Regions from separate parts of the Homo sapiens genome. Here region 1 is linked to region 2. Evidence: promoter capture Hi-C in 16 types of primary human blood cells and fetal thymus (Javierre and others, 2016). All regions are on one chromosome and are shown on one strand. The core of a region is centred on a gene start or on the middle of the fragment in contact, and the rest is flanking DNA. Distances in the headings are between cores, read along the strand shown.

Evidence for each region. Contacts are between HindIII fragments. The CHiCAGO score rates a contact against its expected background, and 5 or more counts as called.
Region 1: a fragment that was not itself captured here is called in contact with the fragment with the promoter of FH in region 2 in 1 of 17 cell types (erythroblasts); the score reaches 5.9 in erythroblasts.

What each region holds. Positions count from the first base shown.
Region 1 is chr1:248,817,585-248,823,405 of GRCh38, forward strand. All of the region lies in intron 2 of SH3BP5L (SH3 binding domain protein 5 like), which reads right to left. Among named protein-coding and RNA genes, the nearest start is that of SH3BP5L, 5.4 kb to the right of the region's middle. RefSeq lists a silencer at 1,306-1,600 and an enhancer at 3,126-4,325. The HindIII fragment of the contact is 4,075 bases long and covers 2,251-5,821 here.
Region 2 is chr1:241,518,292-241,524,139 of GRCh38, forward strand. It overlaps FH (fumarate hydratase), which reads right to left and starts at 1,464. Exons shown (of 10, transcript NM_000143.4): 1 at 1,300-1,464. The coding sequence starts at 1,431. RefSeq lists silencers at 899-1,168, 1,344-1,626, 1,449-1,578 and an enhancer at 1,242-1,838. The HindIII fragment of the contact is 3,380 bases long and covers 480-3,859 here.

The DNA.
Region 1 (5,821 bases), core at 3,038-5,537, 7.3 Mb after region 2:
GCTCACGCCTGTAATCCCAGCACTTTGGGAGGCCGAGGCAGGCAGATCACCTGAGGTCAGGAGTTTGAGACCAGCCTGGGCAACATGGTGAAACCCTGTCTCTACTAGAAATACAAAAATTAGCCGGGTGTGGCAGCGTGCACCTATAGTCCCAGCTACTTGGGAGGCTGAGGCAGGAGAATCACTTGAACCTGGGAGGCAGAGGCTGCAGTGAGCCAAGATCACACTACTGCACTCCAGCCTGGGCAACATAGCGAGACTCTGTCTCAAAAAAATAAAGTGCCAGTGAAGAACAAAGGGCCAAGGAACCAAAGGGGAGCAGGTACCCTGGGCAGACAAGTTGGCAGGTGAGAAGGTCAGTAAGGCTACAGCACTATGGGAGGTAGTACCAGGACTTTCTGCAATGGCAAAAGGGTCTCTCAGAGCCTGGTGCCAATGTAACGAAAGCCTGGGGGAGCCAGGGAGACAAAAGTGGAGGCTGGGACAGGCATGGTGGCTCACACCTGTAATCCCAGCACTTTGGGAGGCAGAGGTGGGCAGATCACTTGAGGCCAGGAGTTCAAGACCGGCCTGGCCAACATGGTGAAGCCCTGTCTCTAGCAAAAACACAAAAATTAGCTGGGCGTGGTGGCACACATCTATAATCCCAGCTACTTGGGAGGCCGAGGCACGAAAATGGCTTGAACCCGGGGGGCAGGGATTGCAGTAAGCCCAGATCGTGCCACTGCACTCCAGCCTAGGCGACACAGTGAGACTCCATCACAAAAACAAAAAACAAACAAAAAAAAAAAGGTGGAGGCTGTCTATAGTATTCCAGGTGGCAGAGGAGAGGGCAGATCCCAAGGCAACGCAGGACACAGAATCACAGGGGCTTGGTGGATGACTAAGGTCAAGATCAGGAAAGTGTATAGAGTCCAAGAAGCCTTTTGGCCTGCTTGGGCAATGGGTGACCATGACCGCAGGTCCCTATAGAGCAGATCCTGTGGGAGGGAGGGAGAGTCCTGGGGAAAAGTTGCTGGACAAGCTGGTTTGAGTGCCTTCCTGGCCCCTGGAAGGACTGGAGAGAGAAGCAATAGAACCATCCAGGGCTTTCCATGAAATGGAAGAGAGCTGAGAGGGGTACTGGCCTCAAGTCATCCTCCCTTGCCCGAGAAAACACAAAAGTTCCCAGAGCCCCTGGTGAGCTAAGGACACTACTGAGGAGCAGTGCTGGTCTGTGCCAAGGGCCTTGTGCCAGGAAATACCTGGTGCCTAGCTATAGGATTTGCCTTCACCAGCCCCTGCTGTCTCTGGACAGGAGGCTGGACAGGCCAGAGAGACCCAGCCCAGCATGTGCCTGCTGCCCAGACCCATGACTTGCACTTGGCAGTGACACCACAATCACTTCCCACTCATATGGCCGTGATGTTGGCCCCCACTCACCTCATTCGGGCCTTTCAGCAACCCAGTGAGGGAGTCAGGCTGACATGCACAATCTTCCTTTTAGTCCCTTCTACCTCTTCTATCCTCCCCCCATCCCCTGCCTTGATCCTGAAAAGATCTGGGTCAGCAGGTAAGAATACAGGAAATGGTTTGACATGTTAATTACAGTAACAGGAAGAACACAAAGGTAGAAACCTGTAATGGAACGAGGAATGAGGATATGAAAATGCACACACCTACCTACAACAGTGTAGACCCTGCCTAAGGAGGGCCACAAATCTGGCTCTAAACTAGGGATGTCCAATCTTTTTGCTTCCCTGGGACACACTGGAAGAAGAACTGTCCTGGGCCACACATAAAATACACTAACACTAACTACAGCTGATGAGCTTAAAAAAAAAAAAAAAAATCGTGGGCAGGCGCAGTGGCTCACACCTGTAATCCTAGCACTTCAGGAGGCCGAGGTGGGAAGATTGCCTGAGCTCAGGAGTTTGAGAACAGCCTGGGCAACATGATGCAAAGCCCATCTCTACTAAAATACAAAAAAATAGCTGGGTATGGTGGCACACACCTGTAGTCCCAGCTACTGGGACGGCTGAGGCAGGAGAATCACCTGAATCTGGGAGGCGGAAGTTGCAGTGGTCTGAGATTGTGCCACTGCACTCCAGCCTGGGTGAAGGAGCAAGACTCAGTCTCAAAAAAAAAAAAAAAAAAAAAAAATCACAAAAAAAAATCTCATAATGTTTTAAGAAAAGTTTACAAATTTGCATTGGGCCGTGTTCAAAGCCATCCTGGGCTGCATGCGGCCCACAGGCCACGGGTTGGAAAAGCTTGCTCTAAATTTTCTCGAAGAGACTTATTCAACAGAAACGTAACAGGAGCTGCACATGGAATTTTTAATTCTAGAAGCCACATTTTTTAAAAGTAAAAAAATTTAAAAAAAGAGTGAAATTATAAAAATACATTTAACCCAATATATACAAAATATATTTCAACATGTGATCAACATAAAATAATATTATTATCCATACTTTTACTTTTTTAAACTAAGTCTTCACAATCCGTATGCACTTGACTCTTGTGACACATCTCAACCTAGACAGTGGCATGTGGCTCCTGTGTTGGGTGGCGAAGGTCTAGAAGTTGTTGTATTTGGGTAGATGCATCTACAGTGTCCCACAACCCAGTGTCCATAAAATAACAACCATTCTGGAAGAACAGGCAGCCAACACAGCTCAGGGCCCCAGAGGAGGCATAGGGTCAGCATCAACACTACCAGACACATGGAACTCCAAGTTTCACAGTGCCTTCCGAACAGAGACATCACCAGCAACTGACACGATCACCCCAACAGGCCCTAAAAAGGCAATGTCTGTCAAGCTGAAAGGCAACCTACCTCCCTGGGGGCCCAGCTTCCTGGGGCTTGACGAGGCCTACAGGGGCTTTTAGGCTATCTGGGAGACGAGTGACCAGTTCTTTCAGCACCTCCTGCTGGAATATTCTTTCTCAGCAACTTTGCATTTGATAGATGAGAAACAACCAGGCGGAAAATTAGTGACAGACTTGGGTCTGGATCCAGGACCGACCTTTGATCTCACTTTCCTTCCACTGTGACCACCCTCCTGGGAATGAGGACACCACTGGAAGGACATCTCAGTAAAGAAAGAAGTGCTGTAATCTAGGAAAACCACAGCCCACGTAGGAAAAGGACAGGGATTGGAAATGCAACAAACATTGATTGTGGGGGGTCAGTTGGTAAAGGCCACCCTGCAATGTTCATGTGGCAAATCAAAGTCCAAGACGGGATCCCCACTGGATTCCATGGCCTCAAATGCTTCCAGTCATCAACTTCCAGCTCCTGACAAGATCATCAATGGATTGGATGGCTCAGCATAAGTTGTTACTACTGTTAAAAGGACAAGAAGAGCTGTTGCTATTGGCAAGTGGCAGGAGTGGGCATTATCTTTCTATATGGGAACTAGCTTCCCAGTGGCACCTCCAGCAATTTACAGAAAGCCATCTGCTGATGGGATCTGTCCCCTCAGAGTCACAAAGCTCTCCCTAACAGGACAAGAAGATGCCTGGGGAGCAAAGCAGCCTGGAGGGCAAGGTCACCACAGGAGGGAGGGGGATAGCCCACCTAGGCGACACCCAGGGAAAGGCTGAGCAGGAATCCACTGAGGACCTGGGACAGTTTTGGGCAGTCAGCAACACATTCCATTTGGCCTGCTTCACCAGGGACTCCTGGCACTCAGCTGAAACGGAATTTGGGGAGGACAAAGTCTGAATCAACGTGCATCATCCATCAGTGAGCCAGCAGCCAGCAGGGAGGGTGACCTTCCCAGGGCACAGCAGTCAGATTCCCAGGATGCCAGGACACTGAATCAAAGGCATGGGGACTCAGGCTGCAGATGCTCCCACCCCACCTAGTGCAGACCATCAAAAGACTCAAACTAATGGTAACTGGGGCCAGGGTGATGACTGTCCTGTGAAAGCTAAACCCATACTTCTAGATGAGGTCACAGAGGTTGCAAAGTCACCCTAGAGAGTTTGGAAAGGAGCAGGTAAACGAGAGCACTCACATCTGAGGAAAGAATGCAACCACTAAGAGGGGGCTGAGAAAGTCACAGAACAGACCCAGGTCCATCCTAGATCCACGCTCCTTTCCTCTTCCCTCCACTGGAACCCTCTCGGAAAGCTGAGGATGAGCCTGGAGGACTCAAAAGAACTCCACTAAGATCATGACAAGGAGACACAGCCAGCAGCCTTCCCTGGAGGGACAGCACGCTCCAGGTAGGCACCAGCTGACTTCCTTCTAACTTCCAGAGGAATCCCACCATAAATGGCCATGGAGCTGCCTGCCTGCAAAGGAGCCCCAGCCCCAGGTCAGACAGGGCCTCATCCGAAGGACAGCCATTTCCGGGAGCCTCAGAAAATACCGAAACAGGCGCTCTACCTTTGGGATATACCTGGCCCAGTGGATTTGGCTCTGACTGTAACATCAGAATCCCTTCTCACCCCACCCAGACTAAGAGAATCCACATGTCTGGAAAGGCTCAGGTAAGGGTATTTTTGAAGCTCCCTGGTGGCTTTTTATGGACGGTGGATGGAAACCCAGTAAATGCACTGAGAATCCAGAGAAATGAACACCCACCTAAAGCACTGAAACACATGATCAGAGCAATGTGCATGGTCTAGTGAACTGTCAACACTCAAAGGGACCTCGAAAGACAAACACCCCAATCTCCTCCTCATCTTGAAAGCCCAAGCACAGAAGGGCAAAATGCCACCGGCCTCCTCCGTGAAGGGTGCCCCTCAAGCCAGGCTGCCTCTCTCACACAGCAAGAAGACACTGACTCCCTGCTGAGGTCAGAGCACTGGCGTACCCACACCTGTGTCATCAAATGAGGGAAGCTATTACTAGACCTTTCCTCCCTATACAACCCACAACATTCCACAACGTGTTGTGCAGTTTAGCAAGAGAGACGAGGGTCTGCTTTACCTTTCCTGCACCAGCGACATCACAAGTTCACTGGAGGCAAAGTAAGTCTTACGCTACCTCAGTGTACTCCAACTCTCATAGAGCTCATCTGATAGAAGAGTCAGTGATGACAGAATATTCTATTTATGCACTGTCAGTATAACATTGAGGAACTGCTTTTTTTTTTTTTTCTGAGACGGAGTTTCGCTCTTGTCACCCAGGCTAGAGTGCAGTGGCAGATCTCAGCTCACTGCAACCTCCGCCTCCTGGGTTCAAGCAATTCTCCTGCCTCAACCCCCCAAGTAGCTGGGATTACAGGCACCCGCCACAACACCTGGCTAGCTTTTTTTATTTTTAGTAGAGACGGGTTTTCACCATGTTGGCCAGGCTGGTCTCAAACTCCTGACCTCAGGTGATCCACCTGCCTCGGCCTCCCAACATGCTGGGATTACAGGTGTGAGCCACCATGCCTGGCCGAGGAACTGCATTTTTACATGTTAATTTTAATTGATTGTGTTTAAATAGCCACATGCAGCTAGTCCACCCTATTAGACAGCACAATGCAAGCATGACTCTTCCTACTACTACCATGTGCCTATGCAGACACTGGAAAAATACATAGGAGTAGTAGAGGCCAAGTAAAGAGACCACAGTGGATTCTCCTCTGCAGAAGCCTTCTCTGGAGCAGGGCAAGGAAGGCTGTAGGGAGGCATATAATGCACATTACACAGCCCTCCTCCACAAGCAACAGAGAGACAGCTCTTTCCCAAAGTGCTATCTACAAACTATCACCAAGGAACAAGCAAAAAGAGTTTGAGAAAGAACTGTAGACTTGTGTCAGAGCAGAGCAAGAATGAGTTGTGCAAATCAGCTAGACCAACTGCTCACTTTACAGATGAAGAAACTGAGGCTCAGAAA
Region 2 (5,848 bases), core at 214-2,713:
AAAGTAGTGCTGCTATTTTTTGACATTTGCATCAACAGGATAGATTCAGAAGTTCTCCAGTCTGCTTCCCTTTACAAAACACTAAATAAACAATAAATAAATTTAAAAATATGTAAAGGTTTTAAAATGCCCTAAAATTATTCGAGCAGGGAGTTCGAGGAATACAAAACATCTCTGATTCTGTAGTATAGTTGTATATCGTAGGTATAGTGACCCAATCAAATTATCTTGAAGTTTAGAGTCCAGAAAAAGTACTGGCCCTTTGAAATACCCTAGATGGGGCACTTATTTAATGAGCACTCGCTACATGGTATTTTCACATGTGCAGTTTTGCTGAGTAGCTGTAAGTATTTCAACTTTGCATACGGATTTGAAATCACATCTCTTAGATTGCAAACCTCATGCTACACCAGTGCAGAACTGTAACTCTTCAACTATCATTTCTCAAACGTTTCCTAACAATATACATATGTATTTAAAGCTTTTTAAAAGCCTGCATTCCTAAAGATGACACTCTAAAGAGCAAAATGACTTACGTAAGCATGTCATAACCTGAACTTGGATCTTTAAGTTCTTAGCTGGCTTTCTGAATAAAAAGTACCGATTCAGCTCCTAGCCAATCTGCTCAAACATGCTTCAGAACACTATGCCCGCGGTATTCGGAATTGAAGAGTTTTACAACAATTACGGGGGAAACCATAGTCAGCCTAACAAACTGAGCATGCAATTTCAAAGGAAGTAAAATCTTCGAAGAACCTTCTACCCCACCTGGAGGGCCTGAAAGCAGTGCAGTGCCCCTTGGCGAAACAAACCACAGTTCAGAAACCACTAGATGCACAGGCGGCCAGTGTCCGGCCAGCAAGGCCCAGCTATGGGGCAGGACGGTGCGGGAGCTGCCCCTCTCCCAGCACCCTCCGCCCACGCCGGCACTGTCCTTGAGGGCAGCGCCCCGGGGCTGGGGGCCTGCGCGCCAGCAGCAGCGAAGTTACCTCAAAACGCCCCGGCCTCGGCCCGCCACGGACGGCTCCGAGGAGGCGCCGGGAGCGGGCCCAGTAGGACCCTCTCTGACAGCCCCCGTCCCTCCCCAAGCGCTCTCCCGGGCTGCGGCTCCATCCCTGCGCCGGAAGAGGCGTCCCGAGGCCGGGAGGCCCGCCACGCCGGCACGGGCGCTAAGCCCAGAGTCTGGCGCGGCCCGGACGCCCGGGGAATCTCTCCCGCCAAGTCGCGGGCGCCCAGGCCGGCAGGCAGGAGGGCTGAAGGTCACTGCGGGGAGGCCGGGGGATGGCGGCCTGCGCTCACCATTCGAGCCGCGTTCGGAGGCCAAAACGAGGGCACGGCCGCGCCACCCAAGCCGGGAGCCGAAGCTAAGGCTGCGGCTGGAGCCCGCACGAGGGGACGCGAGCGCGCGAGGAGCCGAAGTGCTCGGTACATGGTGCTGAGGGAGCTTGGGTAGAATTTCTGGGCGGCTGTGGCCACGCCTCCACGCCGGTTGTCAGAAACCGTTCCGCCCACCGGCCTCCGCTCTTATCCAATCAACAGCCTCACACCGACAGGTGGGGCAGGACCAATCGTGAATGACCAGTAAAGAATGAGGGGGCGGGTTAACTTTCTAGTAGTAGTGTGGGGTGTAAGGCCTTCGGATTCATGGGAAACTAGAAAGAAGGGAATTATGGGAAAGGAGGCTCAGGTTATTCTTGGAGCCGGTCTGATTTTTACGTGTGGCTGTTAGAAGGCGGGAGTATTAGTTGGTGAATCAGGTCGTGTTTGGTTGGTGAAATATCCTAGAAAGAAATATTTATTGTTTTATTTATCATGTAATCACTCATTACACGTTCTTACTACTGAAATCTTTCTTCATTTCTTCCAGATTGTATCTTCTGTGTAGAAATTTTGGGAAGTGCAGCAAAGTGTAGATAATGAAATAGTAATTATTCATAATCCCACAACTGAAAAATAAGCTACTTACTTATTTCTTTTAACTTATCATTTTGAGATCGCTACCGTTTCCTTTCTCTTCTTAGCCTATACCCTCAGAACTCTTTTTTTTTTTTTAATGTATTGTGGAAGACGTACACAATTATAGGGAACCTCGGAATTTTTATTATTTGTATATCGTTCTCCCAGTTTTTTGCATAGCTAATTTATACATTTTCAAATTAAAGGCATATTGTTTTAATATAATAGTTGATTACAGAAAAGCAGGAATTGATATAAAATTGCATCTGAACCACAGTTTTATCTTTTCTCTTTTCTATTGCTTGGAACCAGATGACAGTAAAGAGAGAGCGATCGGATGTTCTTAAAATCAAAAGTCCAGAACCTGCAAAGCCAAATTTATGAGTCAAACTTACAAACTTGCCAAACCTTTTGGTAACATTATGTTATTTTGTGACTTATAAATTTGACACATATTTAAAATATAAAAATTCAAATGAGATTGTAATAGTTGAACTACAATCAAAACACACTAGAAAACTGAATGCAAATTCTTTAAAACATTGCTAATAATGGAATGACGTTTTGTTTTTGTTCTCCTCCTTCCCAGCAGGTATCATTATTGTGTATATCATTATTTTGATGCATCCTTTCAGTTCTGTGTATTTTTTGCTTCATACACTAATATACAAACAATGGTTTTAATATTTTACTTTAAAGTTTTACTGTTGCATAATTGAACTCTATGCTTTTAAGATATAGCCATGATCTTTTAAAATTAATCATATTGGATCACATGAATATGAAATATTTTATTTATCCAGTTTCTTAATAAAGAACATTTTTCTTTGCTATTACACAAAATTATTTAATGAACATATGTTTATCATTTCTTCATAGATCATCTCTTTCTTCATTGTGTGGTGCCCCTCTTTATTGTTATTGTTGCTTGTCCTTTTAAACTTTTTTTAATATTGATATTTCTCTACCAATTTCATATTGGCTATTATTTGCCTGCTGTATATTTCTCATTTTATTTTATTTTTTGTTTCATTTTTGTTTCGAGCATGTCTCTTATTTCTACCATACAGTTTAACTTTTCAAAACCCAAATTAATAGCCTTTTTATAAATAGGTTATTTTAATCCCTTTTAAAAATTACCTATGACACATATTATGTTCTAGAATTTTTCAAAGCACTTTATATGTATTAATTCTTGGAACACTCAAAAACAACCCTATGAGATAGGTCCTATTATTATTCCTGTACATAGAAGAGAAAAATTGATGCCCAGGAACATCCACATATTTATTTGTGTGTTTTACTTCGATTTATTAGTGAAACTGATTTTCTATCTGCAGTAGTAATATGAAGTTCCATTTTTAATTATTCATTTTATTTGAAGTAAAATATTCAGTATAATATGAAGATGCTATATAAATGACTAAAATTTAGGAAATATTAACTTAGCTAATTTATTTTTATTAATTCGTAATAAAACGTACATAAAGCCTTTAATAAAGGCTAGATATCTTCATTTTAGAATGACTTATGTTATCTATTTGAAATAATGTTTTTACTTTGCTTAGAGTTTGGGTTTTTTTTTTTTAACTTTGGACTTGTCTGATAATAATATTGACCTGCTTTCTTCTTGTTGATGCTTGCCTGGTTTGTTCTTGTTTGTTTTACTTTGCTTTCTGTTTAAGGTAGGGGATGTGATTGGTGTCCTGCTGAGGGACAAGGGAAAAGTGCAATGGTTTTCTCTTGCCTGTGTTCTAAATCTCAACACCTGGCTGACAAAATTGATTGCGAGGTTCAAATTGTATCAATCAAAATGTTCTCCTTATTCAAACTAAAGACTTTTGCAAATTCTAATTTAGGATACCTCCCAGCCTGGGAGATTACCAGTGGGTTTCCTAGAGGAAGCTTAACAGAAAATTTGCAAGATACACCCATAAAAGTCTCCCAGAAAGTAGAGCAAATATTCAAAGAGAAGGAAAATAAAAGAAGTAAATAAAATTAGAGAAACAGTTCAGTATGTCCAACATGTGAATAATGTAGGGGAAACATTAGGAAAAAATGGAATAAACCTTAAAAAAATAAATTCAGAAAAATATATTGTAGAACTAGCAGATATGAACTAGCCAGAATGAGTTATGTCAACAAGAAATGTTAGAATACCAAGGGCAAAGAGAAGAGACTGGAATCTTTCAGAGAGAAAAATAAATAAGCAAAGGATTAGAAATCCTTAGACTTCACAACAACAATATCGGAAGCCAGACAGCAGTTGAATGATGTCTTCAAATTGTTAACGGAAAATTATTTCCAACTTTATATTCTATACCCAGAGAAATCAAGTGTGTGAAGAGAATTAAAATGTTTTCACATGATCAAGATGTCAAAAAATTTACTTCTTATCTACACTTTTCAAGAAAACGCCTCAAGTAAGTGCTCCACCGTAACTAGGAGTAAACAAAGGAAGAGGAAATTATGGACTTAGAAAATAGGGTCTTCGACACAAGAGACAGATGTGGCATATTGCCTGGAGGAGGCTATGACAGCTGTGCACTTACCTTAGAGAGCAACCATCTCAGATGGAAGCAGGTCACAGCCTCTGGAATAGATTTACTCAAAAAGATAAAATTGCTAATGCCTTGAATATACTGAGAAGGAATTTAGCTGATTGGGGGAGAGTTTGAGGGTTACATTTATAAGTCTTAGAAAAGTAACCAAAGGGAAAAAGCATGACAGTTATTAAACTGACAAATAAAGATAGTTGTATTTTGCAGAAAAGGGAAAATAATCATTATCAAATTTGAATGGCCATAGTTATAATAAATCAAACGTTGAATATTGATCTAACTGAAATGTTGATGTAACTATACTGAAAGGATGGGGAGATGGAAAGAATGTAGAAGTTTGGAGAGATTCAGACACGGTGAAAAAAAAAACATTAATCTTCGTCTTCAGTAGTGAGAAGTCATGATCTAATACCTAAAACCATAAACTGGACAGACAGAAATAAAAACCAAGAGGTAATCTTTAGAGATGTGGAAGTATATACCCAGGAACTGGAAGGGATGCCTCTGTGCAAGGATAAGTGGCGGAGAGGTAGCAAGGGTGATGACTGTTTAGGTTGGATGTCTTGCAGAACTTTTTTATTCCTAAGACTAAGTGCACGTACAGAAACTTTGCAAAACACTAAAATTACCAACTCAGAAAGTTAACCAACCTCTCTCTCCATTCTCCAGAAAAACTTCAATTCCTCAATGTGCTGGATTCCATTACCCCTCAGAGACACTACCCACTCTTTTTCTTACTTTGTCTGGTTATTTCTCTTAATTGACCCATAGAATAAGTTAATACTGTAACTTTGCTGTCTCAGCTCTCATGTTAAAAACAAACAAAAGCTGCTCTGACTTTGCATCCCACTTCAACTCCCTCCTCATTTCCAGGACATATTTGATCACCATCTTCACTTCACTTCTCATTCTTTCTTCATCCTATTACAATCTGCCTTCAGTACATGTCACTCCATTCATACTGCCCTTTCCAGGGTCACCAGTGACCTGCAAGGTGCAAATACAATGAACAATTAGTTTCCTATGTTTGCAGCAGCATTGACACAATTGACACCCCTTCTCCTTGGAAATACCTCTTTCTCGCTCTTTGAAATATCAAAGTCTCCGTATTTCCCTCTCCCAAACTTCCACTTTGTTTCACTACCTATTCCTTCACACTGTTCTTTGACAGATTTTCACTTATAAATAGGGAAGGGCCTCAGGGCTCACTCCTAAATAGTCTTTCCTCTTTAATTCATTTTTAAAAATATAGTGGGACCTCAGGTACAGAGTGTTGAGTAAATACACTGACCTTATGACATGTTATGGAGTATAAGATCCATTCTTATTTT